3 separate regions of the Homo sapiens genome follow, and regions 2 and 3 are each linked to region 1. The links are contacts of gene promoters, found by promoter capture Hi-C in blood cells and fetal thymus (Javierre and others, 2016). All regions are on one chromosome and are shown on one strand. Each heading gives the region's core, a stretch centred on a gene start or on the middle of the fragment in contact. The rest is flanking DNA. Distances are from core to core; before and after follow the strand shown.

Evidence for each region. The method cuts DNA at HindIII sites, captures the fragments that hold promoters and counts their contacts. A CHiCAGO score of 5 or more calls a contact.
Region 2: a contact is called between a fragment that was not itself captured here and the fragment with the promoter of PITPNM2 in region 1, in 1 of 17 cell types (fetal thymus). The highest score is 5.3, in fetal thymus.
Region 3: a fragment that was not itself captured here is called in contact with the fragment with the promoter of PITPNM2 in region 1 in 1 of 17 cell types (M1 macrophages); the score reaches 5.3 in M1 macrophages.

What each region holds. Positions count from the first base shown.
Region 1 is chr12:123,148,978-123,153,038 of GRCh38, reverse strand. It overlaps PITPNM2 (phosphatidylinositol transfer protein membrane associated 2), which reads left to right and starts at 1,949. Exons shown (of 26, transcript NM_020845.3): 1 at 1,949-2,286. It also overlaps a transcript of MPHOSPH9 not described here. RefSeq lists silencers at 1,566-1,765, 1,786-2,045, 2,066-2,205, 2,306-2,395. The HindIII fragment of the contact is 4,737 bases long and covers 162-4,061 here.
Region 2 is chr12:122,865,709-122,869,700 of GRCh38, reverse strand. VPS37B (VPS37B subunit of ESCRT-I) reads left to right here. Exons shown (of 4, transcript NM_024667.3): 3 at 1,139-1,221; 4 at 2,094-3,992. The coding sequence ends at 2,585. Among named protein-coding and RNA genes, the nearest start is that of VPS37B, 28 kb to the left of the region's middle. The HindIII fragment of the contact is 5,724 bases long and covers 1-3,992 here.
Region 3 is chr12:122,830,048-122,834,156 of GRCh38, reverse strand. No RefSeq gene overlaps it. Among named protein-coding and RNA genes, the nearest start is that of HIP1R, 3.4 kb to the left of the region's middle. The HindIII fragment of the contact is 2,993 bases long and covers 366-3,358 here.

The sequences.
Region 1 (4,061 bases), core at 700-3,199:
GCCCAGAAAAGCCACGTGCTTTGCTGGACGCTACTTGAAATCTGAACTCTGCACCTACATATGTAGTAAAATTAGACACTTTTGTCACTTTAATTTTTAGATTATCTCAAGTTTTCACTAGATTTCAATGTGCCACTTGTGCTATGAGTCTTTAAGAAGCTTTAAAAAATAAATGCACACCTGTAGCCTTTTACCATTCAGACAGGTAGATTATATTTACCTGTCATGAGGGACCATGTATGGTTGACAGTTGCAGGTTTGATTAAATCCACTATATTGCACAAATTTTGCTGGAAATAATTTCCTGCCCTGCCAAGAGCTCTATGGTAGTTTGATAATAAACTACTACCCCAGTATTCTTAGGAACTGTGTTACTAAGTCTTTTCTGCCTGATTTGTACTTTATTTCCATAGACCCCTCAGATATGTGAGGAATCAAGCCATAAATGTGCATTTGCTGGACATTATGTACCATGTCATCTCTATGACTACAGATTTCAAGGATAATTTTTACATCTAACAATTTCACTGTAACAGTGACCGATAATGTGAGAAATGTGCTTTTTACAGTGCTGCTGGTGGGTAGACAAGTGCTTGCTGCAGTTGTTTCTGAATCTAGCCAGATGCTGGAGTCGTGAAGCTGTAAGCTCCGCGGGAGCAGGGACCATCTCTCTTTCTTGCACTACAGGCACTCAATAAATACTTGTGGCTGTGAACTGGCGTGTGGCCTTTGTGTGTTTATTTCTGCTAGCTGGCTGCAGGAGCGGGTTGTTGGTGATTTTAAGTCCCAGGCATAGAGAAGTCCTTGAGTTATGGGTTAAGGGGCGTCCATCCAGGAGCACAGTTCCCGTTGGGACTCTGTGGGCTCCGCAGATCTTTCTGGATGGATCCTAGGGCACCTCTTGGTGGAGGGAAGGAGCTGAAGCGTTCTAGGTGATGGTGGTACGCCTTGGTCCTCCTCTGCGTGGTCATGGTCAGGGGCACCTGGAGGCGAGTCGGGAACGATGGCCTTCCTGGCCCGTTCAGTTGGGTTCTGCCGTGACCCCAGGAGGTGAGCAGCTGTCAGGGGCTCGGCCTCCCCGGCTTCATCTGGAGTCATCTAGGCCGCCTTAATTTTAGCTTGTCCTCTCTCCTCCAGGGGAGCACCGCCGTCTCCTCAGCCTTATAAGGTGACAAGTAGGGATGGGTCACACATCACTAAGTTTTAGGTGTGCTCTCTTTAGTTCCATGACTTCAGATTTTGCCAAACAAGTCCACCCTGGCTCAACCTAACAAACACCTCATGTTTTTAAGGAATGTCACCAGGCGCTCCCCCACCGGGGGCTCTTCCCATTGGAGAGCCCTGTCGTGCCAGATCATCCGGATTAAACTGTTCGTGATCCTCTTCCAGCTACTCCCTGAGGTGGGGACCGGGACGGCTGCGCTCCCGGCTCTGCCGTTCCCTGGGCCGCGGCCCGGGCGTCCTGAGGGGAGAGCGCGGACCCACCGTGTGGCGAGCACCGCGCCCGGGGCTGGGCTTCGGTGAGCTGCCCGCTGCGCTCTGCCCTCCCTGGTTTACCATTTCGCTCCTAAGAAACTTCATTTTTTAAAATGAGGCTGTTTTAAGAGTCACAGTGGCCGCAAGTCGGCCGGTTCCCGCCCCCGAGTGCGCTCGGCTGCTGCGGACGGTGGGCGAGGAGCCCGGGGCGGGGATCCGCGCCGCCGCCCCCGAGTCCAGTCCCGGGCCCTGAGGACACGGGCGAGCCGGGGAGGAGCGGGGTCGCCGCGGCAGGTCTGAGGAACCAGGCGGGCTGCCCGAGTCGGAGAGGTTTCTTCCGGCGGAGGCGGCGGGGCCGGGCCGAGACTCCGCAGGGACGCGCCCCCGCCGCCGCCGCCGCCGCTCCCCCGCGCGGCCTGAGGAGGCGCCGCCGCCACTGAGGGAATGCGAGCCCGGCCCGGCGCGCGCGGGCAGCAGCGGCCGCTGGGGTGCGCGGGGCACCGCGGCGCCGCGGCGTAGAGCTGTCCAGCCGGCCCCGGCCGCCCGCCCGGCGCTTCCTTCTCAGCTCGCGGCCGCCTCAGCGAGAGCCGCCCGCCAGCACGTGCGCCGCCGCCGCCCGCCTGCGACGCTCGGGAGCAATGCCCGCCGGGGCTCTGCCGCTCGCCCGGGGCCAGCAGGCGGCGGGGGCGCGCGGGGCGCAGCCGGCCGGGCCGGGGCCGCGGGGCGGGCGCTCCCCGTGAGGCGGCGTGAGGTGGCGGCGGCCCAGCCGGGGCCCCGAAGAGGACAGAGCCCGCGGCCGCGCCGAGCGGGGTGAGTGCGTCCGGGCGGCCGCTCCGCAGGCCCGCGGTGAGTCCCGCAGTGCCGGGCGCTGGCCGGGGACCTGGGGATCTGGGCGGCGGCTCCCAGAGAGGCCCCGGCCCGCCCGCCCGCCGAGCCTCCAGCCCGCCGGGGGCTGGAGGAGGGAGCGGAGACCCGGGCAGGGAGGAGGGTGTGGCGTACGGGAGCCCCGCTCGGGAGACCGCCCGAGCCTGGCCTCAGTGAGTCGCCGGCCCTGGATCCGTGCCCGAAACGCTGATTTCCGAATTTCCGTCGGTCGCGACCGCGTGGGGGACCCCCGCCAGGGACAAGTGTCATAGCGGTCGGGGGGCAGGCGTGGGCAGTGCCGGTGCCAGGGCGAGGAAGGGGCTATCGGGAGGAAGCGGAGGTGAGCCCCCGGCCCGCCTTCTCTGCTTCCCGCCTCCAGCTGAACGTCCCCAGGCCCGGGCCGTGGCCTCTGCTTGTCGGGGGCCCAGGGTTGGGGTGTGGCCCGTCTCCATCCTCAGTGCCCCCTTCGTGTGGTAATGGGGTGCCGGCTCTGTCTTCTTCCCACCCCGAATCCTTTCTTATCCGTGGCAGGGCTGATCGGGGGGCCTTGGGGAGAGGGAAAGTTCAGTGTCCCCCGCCCCAGTGTGCACTGCCTCCCCGCAAGAAATCCCAAACGGCCACTCCAGGTGAACATAGTGCGCGCGGTGCAAATGTCATTTCAAGGCAAGTCCTCCAGGCTTGTCCCCTTTCCACCGACTTGCTCCTGCAGAGACATCCTGCACTCCTCTCCCTCCCACTGAAGTGTGGGCTGGGTGCCTCTCCAAACACCCCGGCCTACCTGCCTCCCCCACCCAGAGTCGGGATTCTTCAAAGGAGACCTCACTGGAACATCTGTCTTTGTCCACAACCAGCTCTCTCCCCGGCCTCCACCTGGGAGTGACCAGAGCTGCTAGGATAGACCCCCCACTTCTGGAGGGAAGGCAGTAAGTGCTCCCCTTCATCTGAATCTCCCCTAACATCCATCCCCCAGACTCCTCTCTGCTCTGAACTCCCACTGCCTGCTATCTGTATCTCCTGTGTAACTCTTATCACCGTCTGCCTTATTTTATAGTTACTTTTCCATCTGCCTTATCTCCCCTGCTGGACGGTGAGCTCCCGGGCTGGAGTTGATTCATCTCTGGTCTCCTGCCCTGGTCAGTACCCTGCGTGGAGTCAGTGTCTCCGTGGAGCAGAAGGCCCCTCCAACGCTTGCCTCTGGGACCATAGCTTGTCTGATTCCTGGACTGTTGCTGTTAAATTACTTTCCTTCCATGAAGGGACTGTATTCTGTGGTTGGAATGGACTTCCAGCCCTCTCCCACTGCAGAGAGAAACACAATGAGTTAGGAAGGGCTGTTTTTCTTGTAAGGAGTGGCTTGCCAAGTGAACAGGACAGTACATCCTCTGCCCTGAAGATGGCCAGGCAAAGACTCCAGATTCTCTGGGTAGTGAGTGTTGAATGGGCCATTCTCTCTCCTGGTCTTCCCCAGCTGCTCAGGCGTGGGAGGCAGCAGGGGAGAGAAGTGGACTGCGGGAGTCGAGAGACTGGGGTTCCAGGCCTGGCTTTTCCCATAACTTGCTACAGGAGCTTAACTAAGTCACTTGGTTTCTCTTGGTTTTGGTTGCACCTTATGGAATCTGAAAGAATTCCTCTGCGTATCTAAGGCCCCCTGGGATCTGGGTCCTGTCTACCTTTTCTGCCTCCTCTCCTACCATTTCATTCATACCCTAAGCTGCAGTCCT
Region 2 (3,992 bases), core at 1,185-3,684, 280 kb after region 1:
AAGGCTGAGGCCACAGTGAACTGTGATTGCATTACTGTACTCCACCCTGGGTGACAGAGACCCCATCCCTTTAAAGAGTTTGGGTTAAAGATCACCTTCTGCAGTGAGGTTTACAGTGATGTCTGTCACTACTTGCTATCATCTTGTCATTTTCTCCATTAACTTCAGTAAAAATTTACGATCATACACCCAAACCAGAATGACGAAAAGTAAAAAGACTGGCAGTACCAAGTGCTGTGAGGTGCCGTGCATCTTGCTGGTAGGAGTGTCCATGGGTCATCTGGGGCTTGCAGGCTGCACTGCCACAGCCACCTCCTTTTCTCATTTCACCTGGGGAAGGCTGTTGGGTAGCACCTGCTAGAATGAAGAGTGTGTATGCGCTGCACAGCAGCTCTGCTCCTGGGTGTATACCCAACAGAAGTGGATATTAATGTCTCTCAGAAGATAGGTACAAGAATGTTGTATCTTTATTACCTTATAATAAAATTTGGAAACAATAAAAATGTCCGTCTACAGAGTGATGGGCACATAAAGTCTGTTTACACAATGGAACACTACACAGCATTGGAAAGAAACGAACTGATTCACAGACCTGAGCAGGGTCTCAGAGACGCGGTGCTGAGTGCAAGAAGCCAGGAGAGTATGACCTGTACTCTCTGATTCCAGGATGTGGAGTCAAGACCAGGCGGACCTCCTCTGTGGTGGTGGAGGCCAGCGTAGGGGTTATCTGGCGGGTGCAGTGGGCGTGAGGGCGCCCGGTGGAAAGGTTCTGTGTCTGGATCTGGGGGGTGGTGGTTGGCGGTTAAACACGTGGAAATTTGACTTACACACTTGAGATGTGTATACTCGATGTAAGTTACCACTCAAAACATAAAGGAAATACAAAGTGGCATGATGAGAATGTCACTGCCCCATATTTGAAAACAGCTGGTTCTAGAAGCAGCTGGTGACACAGGTTGCTCTGACATGGGATGTTGGCCCCTGGGCACTGGCTTGGTGCACTTGTTCCCCTGTAGGTTTTCAAGCCTTTCACATTCAGCTTCCTGGAAAGGAAGGTGCAATCCTGCCGTGGTTGGCATCATGAAGGGCTTTACCTGGACACCTCTCACTTTTGTCATACCTCTTGCTTTTTTTCCAGACAGACAGTCTAGCAGTGCTTCCTTGGAGACCCTGTTAGCACTTCTTCAGGCAGAAGGGGCCAAGATTGAGGAAGACACTGAGGTAAAGCCCACCAGCCTTGGTGGAATCCTTGGGGCGCTTTGGGCAGTCCGTGGGCCCGCTGCCTCCAGGGACCGTGAGTGCCACACCGCCACGGCCAGGAGTGGTGCCTCCCAGGTGTACGGGCTGTATACCAGCAGGCAGCCTGGCCTGTGTGCTGGGGAAAGTGCCAGGCAGGGGTCCAGGGAGCAGCGGGGTGAGTGAGGGCAGGTCCGAGCGAGGGCCAAGAGAGGGCATGCGTGCCACCCTGTGAACGCCGGCCCCTGGGGCCAGTGGCGGATTACCACGTGCCGTCGTTCAAGGGCCAGCTGGGAGGAGGCTACAGAGCTTCTGGGACACGTCCAGCTGCGCATTAGAGCCTTGAGCCTCGCCAGGCGATAAGGAAATGAGTCAAGGTCGAATGTTGTGCAGTTGTTGCAGGCTGGGGCCGGCAGGGTCTTGCCAAGATAGGGCTGGGCTCGATGAACTCTGAAGCCCTGGGGGCACAGGTGTTTCTGTCTTGCTTACCCACCCAGGGCGAGTCTGTCAGTCAGGGTGCAGCCGGGTGGAAGCAAGGAGGTGTTGGACTCCAGCGGGCTCGAGAGAGGCCTGGGACCCAGGAGTCGGAGCCCTCACCCAAAGGCCAGCTCCTCTGCCTGTCACGCTGGTGGTGGGGTGCGCAGCAGGGCTGTCGTCCTCTCCACCTAGTGGCAGCTCATGCTGAAGCCTGAGCCCATGACCTCTGGGATCTGGAGCAGGAGCGAGGCCCTCTGGGTGGTTACAGGGAGGGGGCAGTGTTGGAAGCAGCTGGGCGTTGCCTCTCCTTGTGCCTAGACCACGAAGGGAGCATCCTCCCCATCTGGCTGTCCCTGTAACCAGGTTTCTGCCTCTTTCAGAACATGGCAGAGAAGTTTCTGGATGGAGAACTTCCTCTGGATTCCTTCATTGATGTCTATCAGAGCAAACGGAAACTGGCCCACATGCGACGGGTGAAAATCGAGAAGCTCCAGGAGATGGTCCTAAAGGGGCAGAGACTCCCACAGGCCCTGGCCCCGCTGCCCCCCAGGCTGCCCGAACTGGCACCTACCGCCCCCCTTCCCTACCCTGCCCCAGAGGCCAGTGGGCCTCCTGCCGTTGCACCTCGGCGCATCCCCCCCCCACCACCCCCGGTGCCTGCGGGACGCTTAGCCACCCCGTTTACTGCGGCCATGAGTTCGGGACAGGCCGTGCCGTACCCAGGATTACAGTGCCCGCCCCTGCCCCCCCGCGTGGGCCTCCCCACTCAGCAAGGATTCTCTTCGCAGTTCGTGTCCCCATATCCGCCACCTCTCCCTCAGAGACCCCCGCCCCGGCTCCCTCCACACCAGCCGGGTTTCATCCTCCAGTGAGCGCCGGCGCGGTCCTTCCCGGGAGACTTCTTCCACCTGGCGTGTTGTGCTCTGCTCACGGGAAGGAGGCTGGAGGTCCGCTCTGTGCCAAGGGCTCTGGGGCCCTGGGCCAGCGTGTCTGTCTGATTTTAGAACTGTAGGTCAGTGGTGAGTAGTAGGAGCCCAGGCTTTGGGCATCAAGGCAGTTGTGTGTGCCGGGTTACAGCCTGACACCTGTGCGTTGCATCGGTTTGCATTATCCGTGTGATTTCTAAGTATCTTAGCGTTGATGAACTCATGTTTGGGAAGAAATAGGCCTCTCCCCCAGTCCCATTTAGAATCGTGGTCCTTCTGTTGCAGCTTTATTTAATGAGCATGGTTCATGATACTTATTTTATTTTCGAAAGACAGTCCTATGTGTCTCACCCACCGGCCACTGCAGCCCTGGTGAGGGCGGGTGGGCGCCGGCCGGCCTGGAAGAGCGCCGTGGCTGGGCCACCACCTGTGGCTGCGTTGTTGCTCACTGAATCTGTTGGGGAGAGGTCACCATAGTCACCGCCTGACCTGGCTGCTGCTCTTGCTTCAGAGCCACAAGCAAAGTTTGCACTGGGCCCACTGCCGAGTCCAGAGGCCGGAGAACGGCCACTGGTGTGGGAGGGGAGCGCACGAGTGGGACTTTGCACAGCAAATTGTGTCCCCAGCTCCTCCTCTCCCGCCTGCCTGGAGCCGGCCCTGAAGGTTTCTATGAAGAAATAATCCCCCAATATTTTTACTACGTGTGTGATTTTCCTGTTTTATATTGAAAAAACTTTTTTGACACTCCCAAGACCATTCAGGGAAATTTTATAAAAAATGCAGATACTGTCTTGAGCAGATCGAAATGCCGATGAAGTGGATGCAATTTCCTTTTGTGCAAGCAGTGCACGGTGCCCCCCCCTCGGGTGTCCGTGCTGTGCCTTAGCTTCCCCAGGTGCCGGGACTCACACCTGCTAGGGGCTGGGCAAGGCCCCGGCTCTGCTTTCTCTGAAGGGCTTGTCCAAGTTCATTGCCCTGTTACAGGTGGTCAAGACGTCCGGCCGCCTTGACCCAGGCTACCCTTAGCCAATATCCTCTGCCCCTGGGTGGCTGGTGGCTGGGCCTCAGGGTGGGCAACGTTAGGGGTTTGGCGAAAGCCCGCCCCATGGGATTGAGGGACGGGGCTGCACTCCAACCGTCTGCACCTGCTCTTCCCCCACCCCTGTGGGACCTCATCTTCACGTGCCATGTGTGCTGAAGGCCCAGGGCCCAGCAGGGGGCAGTGGCACCTGTTGACGGAAAAGGCCGAGGTGCTTACCAGTGGACCTTCTGGCCCGCCCCTCCCCTGTCACTTGTCGGGCATCCAGGGCCCCGACCTGTGCCTAGCCGCCAGGGTGACAGAAGGCAGAACTG
Region 3 (4,109 bases), core at 613-3,112, 320 kb after region 1:
CCTCCGCCTCCTGGGTTCAAGCAATTCTCCTGCCTCAGCCTCCCAAATAGCTGGAATTACAGGCATGTGCCACCACGCCTGGCTAATTTTGTATTTTTAGTAGAGACAGAGTTTCTCCGTGTTGGTCAGGCTGGTCTCGAACTCCCGACCTCAGGTGATCCGCCCGCCTCGGCCTCCCAAAGTGTTGGGATTACAGGCGTGAGCCACCACACCCCGCCAGGGACCCTTTTCTTTAACTGATTCCTCACCCTCCAGCCCAAGAGCTAGAGCTGACCCCAAAAGATAACATTTGCCAAGACTCTCCTGTCACTGCACCAAAAGGAGAAATTAATCCTGTTTTCTCTAATTCCAATCACTAAAAAGCTTCTTTATCAGAATAACGGTAGAATCACAATAGCTGATATGTACTGAATGCTTATTATTTGGCAGGCACTGGGCTAAACCCTTCATATGTAACTTAGTCAACTTAGTTGATAGCTGTGCTCTAATAAAGACCACAGTAAAGGGGCTTTTTGCGGTACTCCAGCTGTTTCTCACACTCCTTTTTCCACACGGAACAAAAGTGGTTCTCCTGTGACCCTTCACGCATATACAGCATCCCTTTTCAACCAGGCAACAGCCCCTGTAGGTCTAGCACATCTGCCACAGAGACTTCCCATTAGCAACTGGCTTTTTAAATAATCACAGAGCCTATTACTGTGCCGGGCACCAGGCTCAGCATCTGTTAAACAGTATCTCACTTATTCTTCTTTAAAGTTGTTGATGAGGCTCGGCACAGTGGCTCACGCCTGTATTCCGAGCACTTTGGGAGGCTGAGGCAGGTGGATCACTTGAGCTCAGGAGTTCGAAACCATTCTGGGCAACATGGTGAAACCCCATCTCTACCAAAAAATACGAAAAACTTAGCTGGCCGTGATGGCGTGCCTGTAGTCCCAGCTACCCAGGAGGCTGAGGTGGGAGGATCACTTAGGCCTGCAAGGCAGAGGTTGCAGTAAGCTGAGATCATGCCACTGCACTCCAGCCTAGACAACAGAGTGAAACCTTCTCTCAAAATAAATAAATAAAAAATAAAGCATCAACAACTTTATTTTTATTTATTTATTTTTTTTGAGACAGGGTCTGGCTTCGTTACCCAGGCCGGAATGCAGTGGCATAATCATAGCTCACTGCAATTTCTGCCTCCTGGGCTCAAGTGATCCTCCCACCTCAGCCTTCTAAGTAGCTGGAACTGGAGGGATGCACTATCATGCCCAGCTAATTTTTTTTTTTTTTTGAGATGGAGTCTCACTCTGCCACCAGGCTGGAGTGCAGTGGCACGATCTTGGCTCACTGCAACCTCTGCCTCCCGGGTTCAAGCAATTCTCCTGCCTCAGCCTCCCAAGTAGCTGGGACTACAGGCGCCCGCCACCACGCCCAGCTAATTTTTGTATTTTTAGTAGAGACAGAGTTTCACCATGTTGGCCAGGATGGTCTCGATCTCTTGACCTCGTGATCTACCCACCTCGGCTTCCCAAAGTCCTGGGATTACAGGCATGAGCCACTGCGCCTGGCCATGCCCAGCTAATTTTTAAAGTTTTTTTGTAGAGACAGAGTCTTGCTAAGTTGTCCAGGCTGGTCTCAAATTCCCGGGCTCAAGTGAATTCGCCCACCTTGAAAGTACTGGGATTACAGGCCGAAGCCACTGCACCTGGCCTCTTGATGGTATTTTTTACAGACCAACAAACAAGCTCAGGTTCAGAGAGTTTAGCCCAGGTTCACACAACTGGTAAACGCTGCATTCGGGATCCAGACCCAGATGTGCCTGATTTCAAGGCCAGTGCCCGCAACACCCATGCCATTTGGACTACATTTTGTGGTCTATGACTTTCAGTACTATACTACCTCAGGCTTGCTGTTTAGGACCTGAGAGCACTCTCCTAACACATCTCTAAGGGATTGTACTTTATGTGCTTGTAGGTAAGATTTTGAGCTATTAGAGGGCCACCCTGTATTACTCAGTTTTATGTACTCAGTGCCTAGCAGGGCACCTGGCACATAGCAATGTTCAATATGTATGTCAAATGAAGGGCTGAAAGAGTGAGTAAACAAATACCTCATTTGGTATACTTCAACATACAGCTGATCTCACGAAAGAGTATCACTGAGGACATAAGGATACAAACTTCCCCAATCTTTTGTTTGTTTGTTTTTGTTTTTGAGACAGGGTTGCCCTCTGTCACCCAGGCTGGAGTGCAGTGGCATGATCTCAGCTCACAGCAACCTTCGCTTCCTGGGTTCCAGCAATTCTCCTGCCTCAGCCTCCTGAGTAGCTGAGATTACAGGCGTGCGCCACCACAGCCTGGCTAATTTTTGTATTTTTTGTAGAGACAGGGTTTCACCATGTTGGTCAAGCTGGTCTTGAACTCCCAACCTCAGGTGATCCACCTGCCTCGACCTCCCAAAGTGTTGGGATTACAGGCGTGAGCCACTGTGCCTGGCCCAAACTTCCCCACTCTTAATTTTTCTGGTTCATCTCTCTAACATCTTCAGGCAGGAGGCCTGGTCTACTATTGTCCCTGTCACTGACTGGCTTTTTTTTTGGCGGGGGGGATACGGGGTCTTGCTTGCTCTGTTACCCCTGCTGGAGTGCAGTGGCTGGATTATGGCTCATTGCAGCCTCAACCTCCTGGGCTCAAATGATCCTCCCACCTCAGCCTCCAGAATAGCTGGGACCACAGGTGTGCACCACCATGCCTGGCTAATTTTTAAATTTTTTGTAGAGACGGGGGTCTCACCACGTTGCCCAGACTGGTCTTGAACTCCTGGACTCAAGCAATCCTCCCACCTTAGCCTCCCAAAGTGCTGGCATTACAGGCAGGAGCCACTGCTCCCGGCCTGAGATTCTTCATGCCATCAGAATCAGGGTTCTGTTTTGGTGTATCTCGAGGGCTGTTGAATTCCTGCTCACCCCTATTACAAAAGCAAAGCAATTGGAATACAAATAAGACCTCGTTTTAAGGAAAATCCAAGATGCACAGGAGAGTTTACATCATCTGGCCCACTAAAACATGGTATGCTACCACACCCACACTGACTCATCGACTCGTATGCATGATCTGGCCCCAGCCTCTGTCCCTGGCTTCATCTTGCACCATCCTGGCCCATCAGGTCCCAGATGCGTCATGTTCCCTCCCACCTCAGAGCCTTTGCACATGCTGTTCCTACTGCCTGGAATTCTCTTCTGCTTCCCGTTCGCCCTACTTAGCATCCACTTGTCTTTAACTCTTGGCTCAGATGTCACTTCTTTAAGGAAGCATTCTCTTAACACTCCACCCTTCACCTGAGTCCCTATTATAAGCTGTCATCATATCTCAAAGCTTTCTTTTGTAGCACTAACCAGTCTCTTGTGAACTATGTATGGGATTCTTAGATTAGTGTGTTTCTACGACTAGATTGTCTGCTTTGCTCATTGTTGTGTCTCCAGTGGCCAGCAAAGCACCTACTGTGTGCTCAAAATTCTTTGATTTTTTGTTGGGTTTCTTTTTGTTGTTGTTGTGGTTGGGTTTCTTAAGCATGCATCTGGCTGAGAACCCAGACATCATCCTTTAAAGAACTGATTCATGTACACTTTTCATTCAATCAACTTCTCTCAAAGACCATTCTGGGTGTTTTTTGTTTGTTTGTTTGTTTGTTTGAGACAGAGTCTGGCTCTGTTGCCCAGGCTGGAGGCATGGCTCAATCTCAGCACACTGCAACCTCTGCCTCCCAGGTTGAAGTGATTCTTGTGCCTCAGCCTCCTGAGTAGCTGGGATTACAGGCACCCACCACCACGCCCAGCTAATTTTTGTATTTTTAGTAGAGAGGTGTTTCGCCATGTTGGCCAGGCTGGTCTCGAACTCCTGATCTCAAATGATGTGCGAGCTTTGGCCTCTCTAAGTGCTGGGATTACACGCGTGGGCCACTGCACCTGGCCCCATTCTGGTTTTTAAACCTCCTTGTCAGCTGCAGTCTTGATGAATGTGTCTGGTTTCTTATTTTGATCCTGTTCACTCTGTTCTCTATCACACTGGAGGTTGCTAAGATTATTCTGTTGAAGGCCTAGAATAATGAACTTTCCTGCAATGTGTCCT